Linked DNA regions of Homo sapiens: region 2 is linked to region 1. Evidence: promoter capture Hi-C in 16 types of primary human blood cells and fetal thymus (Javierre and others, 2016). All regions are on one chromosome and are shown on one strand. Each heading gives the region's core, a stretch centred on a gene start or on the middle of the fragment in contact. The rest is flanking DNA. Distances are from core to core; before and after follow the strand shown.

Region 1 (6,375 bases), core at 2,658-5,157:
AAAGAATGGGGCAGGCCCTCCAGGCAGGAAGAACAGCATGTGCTGGGCTGGGTGCGGTGGCTCATGCCTGTAATCCCAGCACTTCGGAAGGCTGAGGTGGGAGGATCACTGGAGTTTGAGACCAGCCTGGGCAACATGGTGAAACTCTGTCTCTACAAAAAATACAAAAATTAGCCAGACGTGGTGGTGTGTGCCTGTAGTCCCAGCTACTTGGGAGGCTGAGGTGGGACGATTGCTTGAATTCGAAAAGTAGAGGCTGCAGTGAGCCGTGATGGCACCACCGCACTCCAGCCCTGGCGGTAGAGTGAAACCCTGTCTAAAAAAAAAAAAAAAAAAAGTTAACAGCACGTGCAAATGTGTGGAGGTGGGAATAGGAATAGGAATGGTGTGCCCAGGGAGTGAGAACCCTGGCCTTGCTGGCCCAATGGGTCCCTGGCAGGAAGCCAAGTGAGAGCAGCTTGGAAAGGAAGGGTGGGACAGGATTCCAGGACACTGCAGGCTGAGGGGCTGGAGCAATGGGGGGCCACAGTGGGTTCTGGGGTGGGAGTGTTTGATAAAAGCCAGGTTTGGGATAGCTTTTCTGGTCTGGCTACCAAGGGGAGATCCAAACTGATGGAGGGGCTGTTATGGTCCCCAGCTGCCATTTCCCACTCCCCATCCACCCTCCCCCTGCCTTCCCTGCTCACCTGCACGTGTTAAACAGAACCTGCTGGGCCTGAGTTCTCAGGGAGCAGGCAAAACAGGTGAACCAGGCTGCACGGGAGACAGAAAAGCAGTGACTCACTACGCCCTCATCTTTGTCCCACTACAAGGACCTGCTGACCTTTCTGGGGCTGGGGGAGGCCCTGGAGCTGGGAGACCCTCTCGACTTGTTGGCCGAGCCTGGGACAGAACCAGGCTCTGCTTATGGGTACGCACTAGCCTGGAGTGAGTACAGGTCACTACAGGTGGGCACTGGTTGCCACTGGCAGTTAACAGACATTTTCTTTCTTTCTTCTTTCTTTCTTTCTTTCTTTCTTTCTTTCTTTCTTTCTTTCTTTTCTTCCTTCCTTCCTTTCTTTCTTTTTTCTTCTTTCTCTCCTTTCTTTCTTTCTTTTTCTTTTCTTTCTTTCTTTTCCTCCCTCCCTCCCTCCCTCCCTCCCTTCCTTCCTTCTTTCCTTTTTGACAGAGTCTCACTCTGTCACCCAGGCTGGAGTGCAGTGGCATGACCTCGGCTCACTGCAACCTCCACCTCCCAAGTTCAAGCGATTCTCTTGCCTCAGCCTCCTGAGTAGCTGGGACTACAAGTGCGTGCCACCACGCCCGGCTAATTTTTGTGGGGTTTCACTGTATTGGCCAGGTTGGTCTCAAACTCCTGACCTCGTGATCTGCCCGCCTTGGCCTCCCAAAGTGCTGGGATTACAGGCATGAGCCACTGCGCTTGGCCAATAAACACTTAATCGTGACTCAGGAGCACAAAAGGCCTGGAATGTAACAATGCCCATTTCTAGACACTGGGAGCTTGGCAAGAGCTGGGGCCTTGTCTGGTTCATCCCAGAATGCCCACTATGGAGCTAGGCAAAAAGTAGGGGACTCAGAATTGACAGGAAGGTGAGAGGACACAGGGGTGGATGGAAGAAGGAAGAAGGGAATGGCTGTCTGGCTTGGAGGTGGATGAATCAGGAGATAGATGAGAGAATGGGAGACTGAAAGGATGGGTGGATGAACAGAAAGAGGGATGACTGGGTGGATGTACCTATGAAATAAGGTCTGGGAGAACTGATGAACTCAACAGGTGGATGGATGGGTGAAACCAGCAGCCAGACTGGTGGTAGAGGAGGGTTGGCAGTTAACTCCTCCTCCAGACAGCAAGCCTCCCTCCCAGTTCCCCTCTCCAGCCACCAAAGACTTTGGCAGGAATGATACCTCCGATGGGTAGAACTCCAGAGTTCAACCTGCAGCTCCCCACCACCCCTGCAGTCCAGGGCAGGCATTGCCACCCCCAGGTCAGCCTGGGCCGAGGCTGGACCCTCTCCCCAGACCCATATTGATGACGAAGGTGATTATTCAGTATATACGTACACACACATCCCAGCATGCACTGAGTCAGGCCTAGGGCTTGGTCATTGTTGCGGACAGGCAACAGGATGTTGTCATCTGCAGAGAGCACAGGACTGTCATGTCACTGCCAGCCTCTTGATTTGGTGCTTGCAGAGACCTAGGGAGCACCCAGAGCTTGGTGCGAACATCCCTGCCCCTGCCCCTTGCTGGGTAGCCCCAGGTTGCCCGTTTGACATCCCTGAGCCTCAGCCCCTCAGCTGCCCATGAAAATACCAGGGCACCTGTCCTTGCTCACTCATGTTTGGGGAGGTGTCCTCTGCCATCCTGCTGGTGTTCCGGCCTCGCTGGGCAATCCTGGGGATGATAAGATTCATAGTCGCATTTTACAATTATGAGGAACATAGTGTCCTTGGAATGTGCATACCACGTTCCAGATTGGGAAACTGAGGTACAGAGAAGGTTTCCCAACACCACCAGCCTGTGATTCAGGGACAGACCCAGGTCTGGCTGACCCCAAATCCAGGTATCCATCAAGGAAAAGACCCAGGTTGCTGTGGCAGTCACAGGCGGTTGTCGCCATGTCCCCGAGGTTGGCAGAAGCTTGGTTTTGTTCCTTTGTCTGCTCCTACCCAATGTGATTTTAGGCCATTTTGATTGGTCGAAGCCTGCTGTCGTGCTCCCATTCCCTGTGCTGTGATTGGTTCAAGGGTGAGGAAGTCTGCAGGGGTGAGGTAGGGTGAGGTAGGGGGGTGGTTACGAGGTAAGGGACTTGGGGGAAAAGTTAGGTTTAGGATTAGCTAAATGAGACCCACAGAAAACGATGCTTATTCTCCTTCCCCTAGACGCCACATTTCTGCGTGACACCTGAAACTGTGGTGGCCATCTTGTGACCATGAGAGGGGGCTAAAAGAGCAGAATGATGACAGGAACCTGGGTCTTGGGTGGCAGAACTGAGGAATTAACACACTCCGGAGCCCCCTGCACCTTGGGACCTCTTGATATGTGAGATTTAAAATTTTCCCTTATTTCTTAAGTCAAAGGTCTTTAAACATTTTTGTTTATACCACCTCAGAGTATTTATATTGGTTTATTAATAAATTATATATACACCCAATTGTACTAATACATTGTTTACCCTTCCCAAATGTACAGATTTATGGTAACATTCCTGAATAATATAAATTAAAAGAGGATGAAAGACATACATTCTAGCCTGGTTATTTCTTTTCTCACCCTTGGGGATTGTTTGGTATACTCTCTTGGGATATACACCCAGATTTGGGTGCCCAGAGATAGGCATCATTTTAAGTTGGAATTTCTGTCACCTGCATTCAGAGGCTTTCTGACAGATAAAGATGGCGAAATACTTGTTTCCTTCTTTCATACCAGTCTCCTGCACTAGACCGTGAGCTCCATGAGGGAACGGAGCACATCAGACTGGTGCCACACCGTGTTCCCCGTCCTCTGTGCATTTCCCGGCACACAGTAGATGCTCAATAAATGCGTGCTGGAAGGATGGCTGCTTCACCACTTCCTGGCTGGGAGACTTTGGGAATACCACTGCCAAACCTCTCTGGTCTTGGTGGCTGTCTCTGTACAGTACAGTTGACAATGCCACTCATCTCCAAGGACAGGGTGGAGGGGCAGCATTTTGTAAACTGTAAAGGGCTGGGCAAAGGGAGGGGCTGCCATCCTCACCTCCGGGGTCTGGGATTGTGGGCCACATCTTCGAGTAGGGCGCCTGGGTCCCCAGGGCTCCTTGAGGACCGTGGCATCGATTTCCTTCTTTAGGATTGGGGATGGAGATGGGAACTCTGGGAGCTGGTGAGGAGGAAGGGGCTGATGCCTCTGAATGTCCCCTGAAAAGTGCCAAGTGGAATCTGCCAGGATCAGTGGAGCAGTTGGCATTGTGACCTCACAGAGCAGGTGGGTGGAGGGGCAGGGGATGGGGCTAGTCTCCAGCTTGGCCCTAGAACCTCCCCCAGAGGAAGCCATTGTGACCCACTTTCCTTTCTTAAGATGGGGAAATTGAGGCATCAAGACAGGAAGGGCCATGCTGGGGTCTCAGAAGCTGGACAGGGGCGAGAGCTGAAGCTCCAGTAACCCAACCATGCTTTTCCTTGTTTCCTAGATCCCTTCCTGCCCCAAGCTTCCCAGGCTTTTCACCTTCTTAGGTTGCACCTGAATGCATTTTGTAATGCTGAGCTTCTCACTGGTGGACATTGTGCATAACACAAAATAACATTGCATGTGTTGTTGCTTTAATAAAGTTCTACTTTTTGTTGGGCCCGGTGGTTGATGCCTGTAATCCTAGTACTTTGAGAGGCAGAAGCGGGTGGATTGCCTGAGCTCAGGAGTTTGAGACCTGTCTGGGCAACATGGCAAAACCCCTTCTCTACTAAAAATACAAAAAATTGGCTGGGTGTGGTGGTGTGTGCCTGTAATCCCAGCTACTCGGGAGGCCGAGGCTTGAGAATTGCTTGACTCGGGAGGCGGCAGAGGTTGCCGTGAGCAGAAATCGCGCCATTGCACCCAGCCTGGGCAACAGAGTGAGACTCTATGTCCAAAAATAAAGTTCTACTTTTTTACTGGGGAAAATAAAAGCATAACCGAGTGGAAATGTCGGGCTAAGTTTTTTCTGTTCACCCTGCCTGTAGGGAGCTTGACTATTTGGATAGCAAAGCTAAAATGAATTCACTTTTGCCCCCTGGTGGCAGTTGCTTAAAATTGCAGGCTAATTACCAATGGGAAGTGGTACGATGGTCCCTCAAAGAGGCCCACACACTAAAACCTGAACATGTAAATATGTTAAGTCACAAGGCAAAAGGGAGTTAAAACTAGAAGAGCAATTTAAGTTGCTAATCAGTCGATCTTGAGATGGGAAGAATACCCTAGATTACCCATGTGGGTGCAATGTAATGACAAGGGTCCTTAAAAATGGAAGAGGGAGGCAGGGAGATGGCAGCACAAGAAGCACTCAGCCCAACATGCTGGCTTTGAAGATGGAGGAAGGGACCAGGAGCCAAGGAATAAGGGCAGCTTCTAGAAGCTGGAAAAGGCAGGTGGACAATTCCTCTCCTACAGCCTCCAGCAAGGAACACAGCCCTGCCAATACTTCCTTGATTTTAGCCCAGGGAGACCCATCTGGGACTTCAGACCTCCAGAATGGTAACATGATAAATTGTGTCTTAAGTCACTAAGTTTGTGATAATACATTATTGCAGCAACAGGACACCAATGCAAAACCCCTGAGAATATTCAGTGAAGGGGAAACTCTGAAATGCCACCACTACAATTGTTACAAGGGTCTTTCAAATGTATACTCATTCATTTATTCATTCAACAAATATTTATGCACCTAGTATGGTCCAGGTGCTGGAAACAGGGCTGAGCAGAACCAGCTCCCATCCCTGCGGATGCAGGCAAAGTGGCTGGCAGAACATTCTGCATATAGCAGGTGCTCACCAAACGGTGCTTGCCATTGCTGTCAGGAGCCGGTTGAGATCTGGGATGGGCTGGTGAGAATCTCCCTCTTTTATGTCTACTGGCTGTCACCCAAATGGCTCTTGTGCTGGAAATATTTAAGAAAAGGAAGTGTCCAGGCCAACAGCAAACACCAAGAGTGGGTTTGGTCAATATTTGCGCCTCTGTCCACTGAGTCTGCTGTTTGCATCAGCTATGGTGAGGGCGCAGGAGGGGCCGGTCTTGGGCATTGGTGGACAGACCAAGGCCAGGAGCAGGGTGTCAGGGAGCTCACAGCAGGCTCTTCTCATTCCTCTTTGCGTCTAGAATAGGGGCAAGGGAGCACTGGTTGGGAGGCAGGGCTGGTTCAAGTGAGCTCCAGCTGCTCAGGGGAGGGCTTGATGGTGTCTGTGGTCAGCTTTGTAGACACTGGTGGAGGCCTAGCACAGGGTGGGCCTGGGAGCTGGGCCTGATATTTGGGCTGGTGTGGGGTCAGTGGGAGTCAAAGAGTGCCCTGGAGTTGGGGAAAGGCCCCAAGTCATCCTGTGCCAATGAAGAAAAATGGAAAGGCCATCGCCTGCTGTGCACACATATATGCACACACACAAGAACATATATACATGTACCTCCCCATCCCAGGAAACAGTCCACTTGCATACACACATGCACCTAACACCACACACTCACAGACCCACAAACACTCAGTAGGCCAAGCCCACACATGCATACATGTACACAAAACTCCCCACCTCTGTGGTCCTGTTGGATTGTGTGAATAGACACACAACACCATAAACCAAGATGCCAACGTGCCCATTTCATGTCCACACTCACACATAAGAGCACACATTTTCCCCGTACATGTGACTATGC
Region 2 (7,282 bases), core at 2,710-5,209, 290 kb after region 1:
TGAACTCAGGAGGTGGAGCTTGCAGTGAGCCGAGATGGCACCACTGCACTCCAGCCTGGGTGACAGAGCGAGACTCTGTCTCAAAAAAAAAAAAAAAGAAAGAAAATAGCTAATACATTCCAAGTGCTTACCATGTGAAAGACACCGTGCTAAATGCTTTCCAGATATTAACTCACTTAATCCCTCAACTCTGGGAAGCTGGGGTCATTATCCCCATTTGTCTGATAAGAAAACTGAGGCACAAAGAGGTTACGTTGATTGCCTAAGGCTACACAGCTAGCCCAGGCAGTTAAACACTGCACTCAACAGCCTCTCCTGGACACCGTGCCCCAGGTCACCGGGCATCATGGGCCTGCCCTTGGCCCCTCTGCCTCAGGTCCCTCTGTGCTCACCCCAGGTCTGGCATCCTGCACTTGCTGCCCTCTGACACCTGGGAAGATGGCCGGCCCGTGGACCTTCACCCTTCTCTGTGGTTTGCTGGCAGCCACCTTGATCCAAGCCACCCTCAGTCCCACTGCAGTTCTCATCCTCGGCCCAAAAGTCATCAAAGAAAGTAAGTTTTGTCCCTCCGGAGCTGGCTGCCATAAGACAAGGGGGTAGGTGGAGCAGCTTCCCAAAGGAGGGAGAGAGTTCCTCATCACGGGGGATGTGCATGGCTGAGATCCCAGAACGTGGGTGAACATGAGTGGGAGGTTGTAAAGGTCTGGAGAGTCTGTGATCTCAAGAGTCCACGATTCCAAGAACCCCTTCTTAAATTCCACAGTTCCAAAGACCCTGAGTTTCCACAGCCTGCAGAAGGGGCATGCAGCCACTGCATGCAGTGATGCAGCTGCCTCTCCCACTGCCTTCACCTGAAATCCCATCGTCAGAGCACCCCGTCTTAGTTAGACCCAGTGTGCTCCTCCTCCCCAGAGCAGAGACCCTTGACTGCAAGTGTGGCAGCCTGGGTCCCAGGCACAGTGTATCACTTTCCAGCTCTGGGGCACTGGGCCAGTCCCTGAGCCTCAGCTTCCACCTTGGGACACAAATAAGAGGGCCTTCCTCACTGGGTGGTTGGAATTGACTAGAGCTTTATGAATGCTATGACCATGGTTTCAACCTCAGCACTTCTGATGTTGTGGACCAAACAACTATTTATTATGGGGGGTGTCCTGGGCACTTTAGGATGTTTAACAGCATCCCTAACCCAACTGTGACAACCAAAAAGGTCTCCAGACATTGACAAATATCTCTTAGGGGACAAAATCATCTCAGTGGAGAACGACTACTCTAAAGTCTCATCCCCTTAGAGGGGACTCACCTGTCAGCTCTGGAGGCCACTTGAGCACTTAGAGGACCAGACCTCTGCATTCAGGGGGACTAGGGGCCTGGGTCATGGCCAGAGGGGCAGGGGCAGGTCCTGTGGGACCAACAGGCTCTGTAGCCAGCGGATGGATTCCCAAGTAAGGACGGGAAGCAGAGGGCTCTGAGAGGTTGGAGGGAGGCAGAGGTGGCCTGGATCCACACTGTGAAGCTCAAGCATGTGGAATTTCAGCCAGAAGGAGCTTAGAGATGAACAACCATGCTTTAGGCTCTCCTATAAGGAGTTGTGTACAAGTGGTTGGTTTTGAAGGTGACCCCAGAAACACCTACAGGAGTGTGGGGAGGCAAGGCAGGGAAGGAAAGGCATCCCATGAGGGGTGCATGTCCAAGCCAGTTACCACTGTGGCGACTGAAGCTCAGTCCTGCCTAGCAACTGCATCTATTAGGGCCATTCAGGAGACAGAAACCACACAGTAAATGCCAACAGGTAAGTTTAATGTAAAGAAGTATTACCAGGGGATTGGAAGAATGAGGAATTGGCTAAGAGGGAAAACAGACAGAGCTCTAAAGGATAACCTAGGGATGGAGGGGGTAGCCAAGGACAGAGCAAGTTCAGAGGTAGAGAATCCTCCCCAGCCCTCTTTGTAGAGGGTGTGGTTGAAGCCCACTGTGTGGTGGAGAAGTTTGCTGGCTTGTCCCAGGCCAGAGCTGGTCCACAGTTGGCAATCTGACGCTAGTGGGTGGAGAACTACCTGCCAGGGGGCCAATAAAATTCTCTGGGAAGCTGCCCCTGGAGGAAGGGGGCTGCTGTTAACTCACGGGGAAGCTGTCTCTGGGGAACTGCCTAGAAGCTAGCCAGGGTGCCTGCAGAACTCACTCAGCAAAAGCCACTGGGCAGTGACACCATAGGAACCTGGAAAGAGAAGCACACCAGAGCCATGAAGGGAATCCCCCCCATGCCCCTCCAGAGTCTCCACTGAAAGGGCTTAACACTGTGCCAAATGGCAAAAAAGAAATATTCACTGGGCCCAGTTCCATTACCACAGAGCAGGCAAAGTGGGTGGATTTGCAGCTGAGAGGCTATAACCCAGGAGCTCTGATACACAATGAGGGACACACATCTGAGCCATCCTGCCTGAGGGGTGAGGGAGCTGGGATATTGATACACCAACTCTCACCAATCACTGGCTGAAGTCTGCTCCTGGGGCATCAGCTCTCCAGCACTTCTGACCTGCTCTGCACATGAGCCAGATGGGCTCTAGCTGCTCACAAAAAGCCAGCTGGGACAAGAACCCAGGGCTCTTGACACTTATGCCTCTGTCCTGGCTCCTTCTTCCTCTGCTCAGCACTTGAGGCTTTTTGGACAACACATCCATAGGATATGGATGCCAGACAATTGTTAACAAGTGTGCTTTGGCAGCAAAACAGCCCCAAACAGAGTTTTGAGGGTTCCCTGCCTGTTGGCCCTAGAAATGCTTGCAACTGGCTCAGGGGATGAGTGCAGGTCCAGGTGCTGAGTGCAGTGGCCGACACTCCCCACAGAGGCTGGCAATGCTCAGGGGTGTGAATGGTCCCAGCCTCGCTCCTGATGTGAAAACGACCCATCTGGGCTACTGTCCTCAAGGCTACATCTACACAGTGGGGACTGGCAGGCTGGTCCTGACCTCCACCACAGTAGAGATGGCTACACCCTCGCCTTACCTCAGGGAGCCTCGAGTGATACCCCTCCCCAGCCTGGAGCTCCCACCAAGCCTTCCTTCTTGCCCCTCCTCCTGGGCCCTAATCCCTGGGGTCTGCCTCCAGAGCTGACACAGGAGCTGAAGGACCACAACGCCACCAGCATCCTGCAGCAGCTGCCGCTGCTCAGTGCCATGCGGGAAAAGCCAGCCGGAGGCATCCCTGTGCTGGGCAGCCTGGTGAACACCGTCCTGAAGCACATCATCTGGTGAGTGGAGCAGGACCACACCAGGAGCTAGCCCCTTCCCACACCTTTGCCCGGGACACGCTCTGCATGCTCAGTCAACCAGTCTGCAAGCATCGACTTGTGTCAGATCACAAAGAGTGGATCAAACAAAGCCCCTCCGTCAAGAAGCTCCCAGAATAGTTAACAAGAACCATAAGACAGTGACACAGGAACCCTAATACAACAACCCCAGAGCAAGGCCAGGGACGGTGGCTCAAGCCTGTAATCCCAGCACTTTGGGAGGCCAAGGTGGGTGGATCACCTGAGGTTAGGAGTTCGAGACCAGCCTGGCCAACATGGCAAAACCCCATCTCTACTAAAAATATAAAAATTAGCCAGGCATGGTGGCAGAAGCCTGTAATCCCAGCTACTCAGGAGGCTGAGGCAGGAGAATCGCTTGAACCTGGGAAGTGGAAGTTGCAGTGAGCTGAGATGGTGCCATTGCACTCCAGCCTGGGTGACAAGAGTGAGATTCTGTCTCAAAAAAAAAAAAACAAAAAAAAAAAAACAACCCAGAGCAAGGTTGTCTGGGGTGGCACAGGGAAGGGATGAGGTGATGCTTCTCACTGGAGGTGACAGTGGAGCCGATGACTCAATGCTCACCAGGAGACAAGAAGCAAATGGCATCCAGGTAGAAGAATCAGGCTGGGCAAAGGCATGGAGAAGTGACAGTCGGTCAGAATGGCTAGAGCTCAAACCTCAAGGCAAGGAGTAAGGGATCAGCAGGGTCAGGTCACAGAGGGTCTTATGAGTCAGCTCAAGGAGCTGGGAGTCACCACCTAGAAGAGAAGGCACCATAATAGCATTGTGAGCAGGAGTGGAGGGGAGGGATGGAGGCAAGACCATCTGGAGAGGAGTCGGTGGGCAGGGCCAGGGTCCCGCTGCTGCCTAGGCACCCCAGGGAGATGGAAAAGATAGAGAGGGAGTGGATTTGGGAATAATGAGCCGGAGGCATGATTCTGATCTCTCCTAAACCCCATCCAGGCTGAAGGTCATCACAGCTAACATCCTCCAGCTGCAGGTGAAGCCCTCGGCCAATGACCAGGAGCTGCTAGTCAAGATCCCCCTGGACATGGTGGCTGGATTCAACACGTGAGTGACCCCTCCATCAAGTACAGTAGGCTTGACAGGCTCATCTGCTCGTTCCCCCTCCCCCGCCCCCACCATGCAGGTGTCTGGAAAAGAGAGTTCCGAGCAGAGAGAAGAGCAAGTGCAGAGGCCCTGTGGCAGCAGTGTACTTGCCTTGCTCAAAGAATGGCAAAGACAGGGGAAAGAGAGAGGGGGCATGGTAGGAGATGAGGCCAGCAGGCAGCCGAGGCCAGATCATACAAGGCCTCTTGGGAGAAGATAAGGACTTGGCTTTTGCTGAGTAGGACGGGAGCCAGGGAGGATTCTGAGCAGAGGAGGGATATGCTGTGCTTTCACATTTTTAAAGACTCCTGGCTGCTGTGGGGAAAAAAGACTTTCTGGGGGTAAGAGTGGAGACAGGAAGGCTATCCCAAAGCTACTGCAACAATTCAGGAGGAGATAATGATGGCTTAGACCAGGGTTTGGGGCAGGGAGGTGCTGAGAAGTTGATTGGATTCTGGATATGTTTTGGAGGTAGGTGGGGACACCAGGATATCCCGGGGAACTGAATATGCATGTGTATTCAGGGGGAAAGAGAGAGAAGTCAACGATGACTCCAAGAGTTCTGCCTGCACCACTGGCAGGATGGAGTGGTCAGTAACCAAGACAGGCAAGGCCATGAGAGGAGCAGGTCTGGGGAAGAGCCAGTCCAGTGTTGCATGCGCTAAACTTGAGAAGCCCGTGAGACATCGGAGTAGGGGGCTGGGGGTAAGTTTGGAAGCTGTCAGCAGACGAAAGACGTTTCAACCAAAGAGGAGTCTGAAAACTGAGCCTGGGACATGCTGGGGTGAAGTTGGGTGAAGATGAGGAGAAACCAGCAAAGGAGACTGAGGAAGGAGGTGAGGGCTGGAAGACAGAGACGGACGGCAGGGTTGCTCCAGCCCGAGCTTGCCTGGTGCTCACATGGTCAGGTGCCTCCACCCGCTAGGCCCCTGGTCAAGACCATCGTGGAGTTCCACATGACGACTGAGGCCCAAGCCACCATCCGCATGGACACCAGTGCAAGTGGCCCCACCCGCCTGGTCCTCAGTGACTGTGCCACCAGCCATGGGAGCCTGCGCATCCAACTGCTGCATAAGTGAGTGTCGCTGGCCACCAGCCGGGCTCCCATCCTGCCTGGAAGGAACGCCAGGCAGTGGACTTCCCCCATTTTACAAATGGAGAACGCTGAGGCCTAGAGAAAGAAAGGGACTTATCCCCTCCTGATTCCTGATCTGGGGCTCCTTCCAGGGAATCTGTGATGCCAAGGGAAGTTCAGGACATCAAGGTCAGAAGCAACCATGGTGGGTTTCAGGCATGACACCGGGAGGTGGGGCAAATCTTTGAAGGGGGAGGCCTAGAAACTCCTCCAAACACCAGGGCAGGTGTAGGTGGAGCCAGGGGCAAAAACATAGGCTTTGGGTCAGGCCAACACATTCTCTTCATTTGCTCTCCGGGTGATGATGGCCAAGTGGCCACCCTGTGTCTCACTTTCCTCACCCGTAAAGTGCAGGTAATGACACCTTCCAGGCAGTGGTGAGAAAACTGATCAGACAACAGCCATCAAGCACTCAGAACAGTGCACGCGCATGGTGGTGCCAAAAAACATGGCGCCCCCCCTTCCCTTCTTAGCAGGAGGACAGGGAGAAATGCCAGCTCCCATCATCCCAATGCCCAGCATAAAGTTCCAATGACAACACCCAGCCGCTGCTTTCTGATAACTCTTTGCCACTGCCTACACCTGGCTCAGGGGCTACTCCCAGCCCCGTCTCTAACACGTCCTGTGACCTTGGGCAGGTTCCTTCCTCCCTTAGACTCAGCCTCCCCCTCTGTAAAATAGAGGAAGGGGTGATCATCTCTGACCCTTCCTAATGTCTCTCGTGCTCTCTTCCCTGAAAGGCTCTCCTTCCTGGTGAACGCCTTAGCTAAGCAGGTCATGAACCTCCTAGTGCCATCCCTGCCCAATCTAGTGAAAAACCAGGTGAGTGGAATCAGGGCCTCTCTGGCCTGTGGGCATTGCGCCCCCTGTGGGGCTTGGGTGGAACTGCAAGTTGGTGCTAAGTGACTGGAGTCTCCTTGGGTGGGTTTTGCTGAAAGAATTATCTGGGGCTGGATAGCAAAGAGTCATGGAGTGGGGTGGGCCATTGACCCAGGCAGACAGGCAAGGTCATGGGACTGCTAAAAGTCAGCCAGGAGCCCGTGAACAGTGACGTGCTGATAAATTTTTAGCAATTGTCTCTGGAGGGGTTGTTGAAGGGAGGCAAACCTGATTTGTAGCTTTTGCGGATTTCCCTGGTGGAAATACTCCCTTCAGGGCCAATTTTAGGCGACCAGTGTGATGTCACTGAACAGAGTTGGGAAAAGATATACAATAGCACACGATTGTATATTTCCACTAAACAGATACATAAACATGATCTCAGGAGTAATAGATAGTAGTAAAATACAGCAAACTAATTAGGAAGCAATGCGTTTTAAATTTTTATTAAATTTGTTTTAATATAATTTATTTAATTGTAAGTTTATATGTCTAATTTGTAACAATGTCTGGGCTTAGCACCCAGCTCAGAAATTTGTGGAAATTTAACAATTGGTTCTCAAAAGCTAGTACAAGCTGGCTCTAGCACGGCACTGTCACACATCAATCTGGCTGTGGTATTCAGGGCTGCACCACCCACCAGGTCCTGTTGGATTTTTTTTCTGCGTCAGTAAACACAGGTGACTCTCATTTTAGTTGCCCCTATTTGTCACAGGTATACTAAAACTTTGTAAATTGAATTCATCCACATTAACCAGTGATTTCCACTGTAAATTCCAAGATGTGTTCGTAACAATGGGCCACCCGATCTAGGGTCAAAACACCTTGTCAAATAGCTAATATTTCTTGGAATAAGACTTTTTTCTTTGATT

Evidence for each region. The method cuts DNA at HindIII sites, captures the fragments that hold promoters and counts their contacts. A CHiCAGO score of 5 or more calls a contact.
Region 2: a fragment that was not itself captured here is called in contact with the fragment with the promoter of SUN5 in region 1 in 5 of 17 cell types (M1 macrophages, M0 macrophages, endothelial precursors and 2 more); the score reaches 8.8 in M1 macrophages.

What each region holds. Positions count from the first base shown.
Region 1 is chr20:33,000,526-33,006,900 of GRCh38, forward strand. It overlaps SUN5 (Sad1 and UNC84 domain containing 5), which reads right to left and starts at 3,908. Exons shown (of 13, transcript NM_080675.4): 1 at 3,739-3,908; 2 at 2,336-2,394; 3 at 2,062-2,136; 4 at 687-753. The coding sequence starts at 3,815. RefSeq lists enhancers at 187-687, 688-1,188. The HindIII fragment of the contact is 1,549 bases long and covers 2,639-4,187 here.
Region 2 is chr20:33,285,636-33,292,917 of GRCh38, forward strand. It overlaps BPIFB1 (BPI fold containing family B member 1), which reads left to right. Exons shown (of 16, transcript NM_033197.3): 2 at 398-553; 3 at 3,106-3,247; 4 at 4,250-4,357; 5 at 5,322-5,471; 6 at 6,272-6,353. The coding sequence starts at 439. Among named protein-coding and RNA genes, the nearest start is that of BPIFB1, 6.1 kb to the left of the region's middle. RefSeq lists enhancers at 3,985-4,945, 4,946-5,906, 6,373-6,422. The HindIII fragment of the contact is 8,984 bases long and covers 1-7,282 here.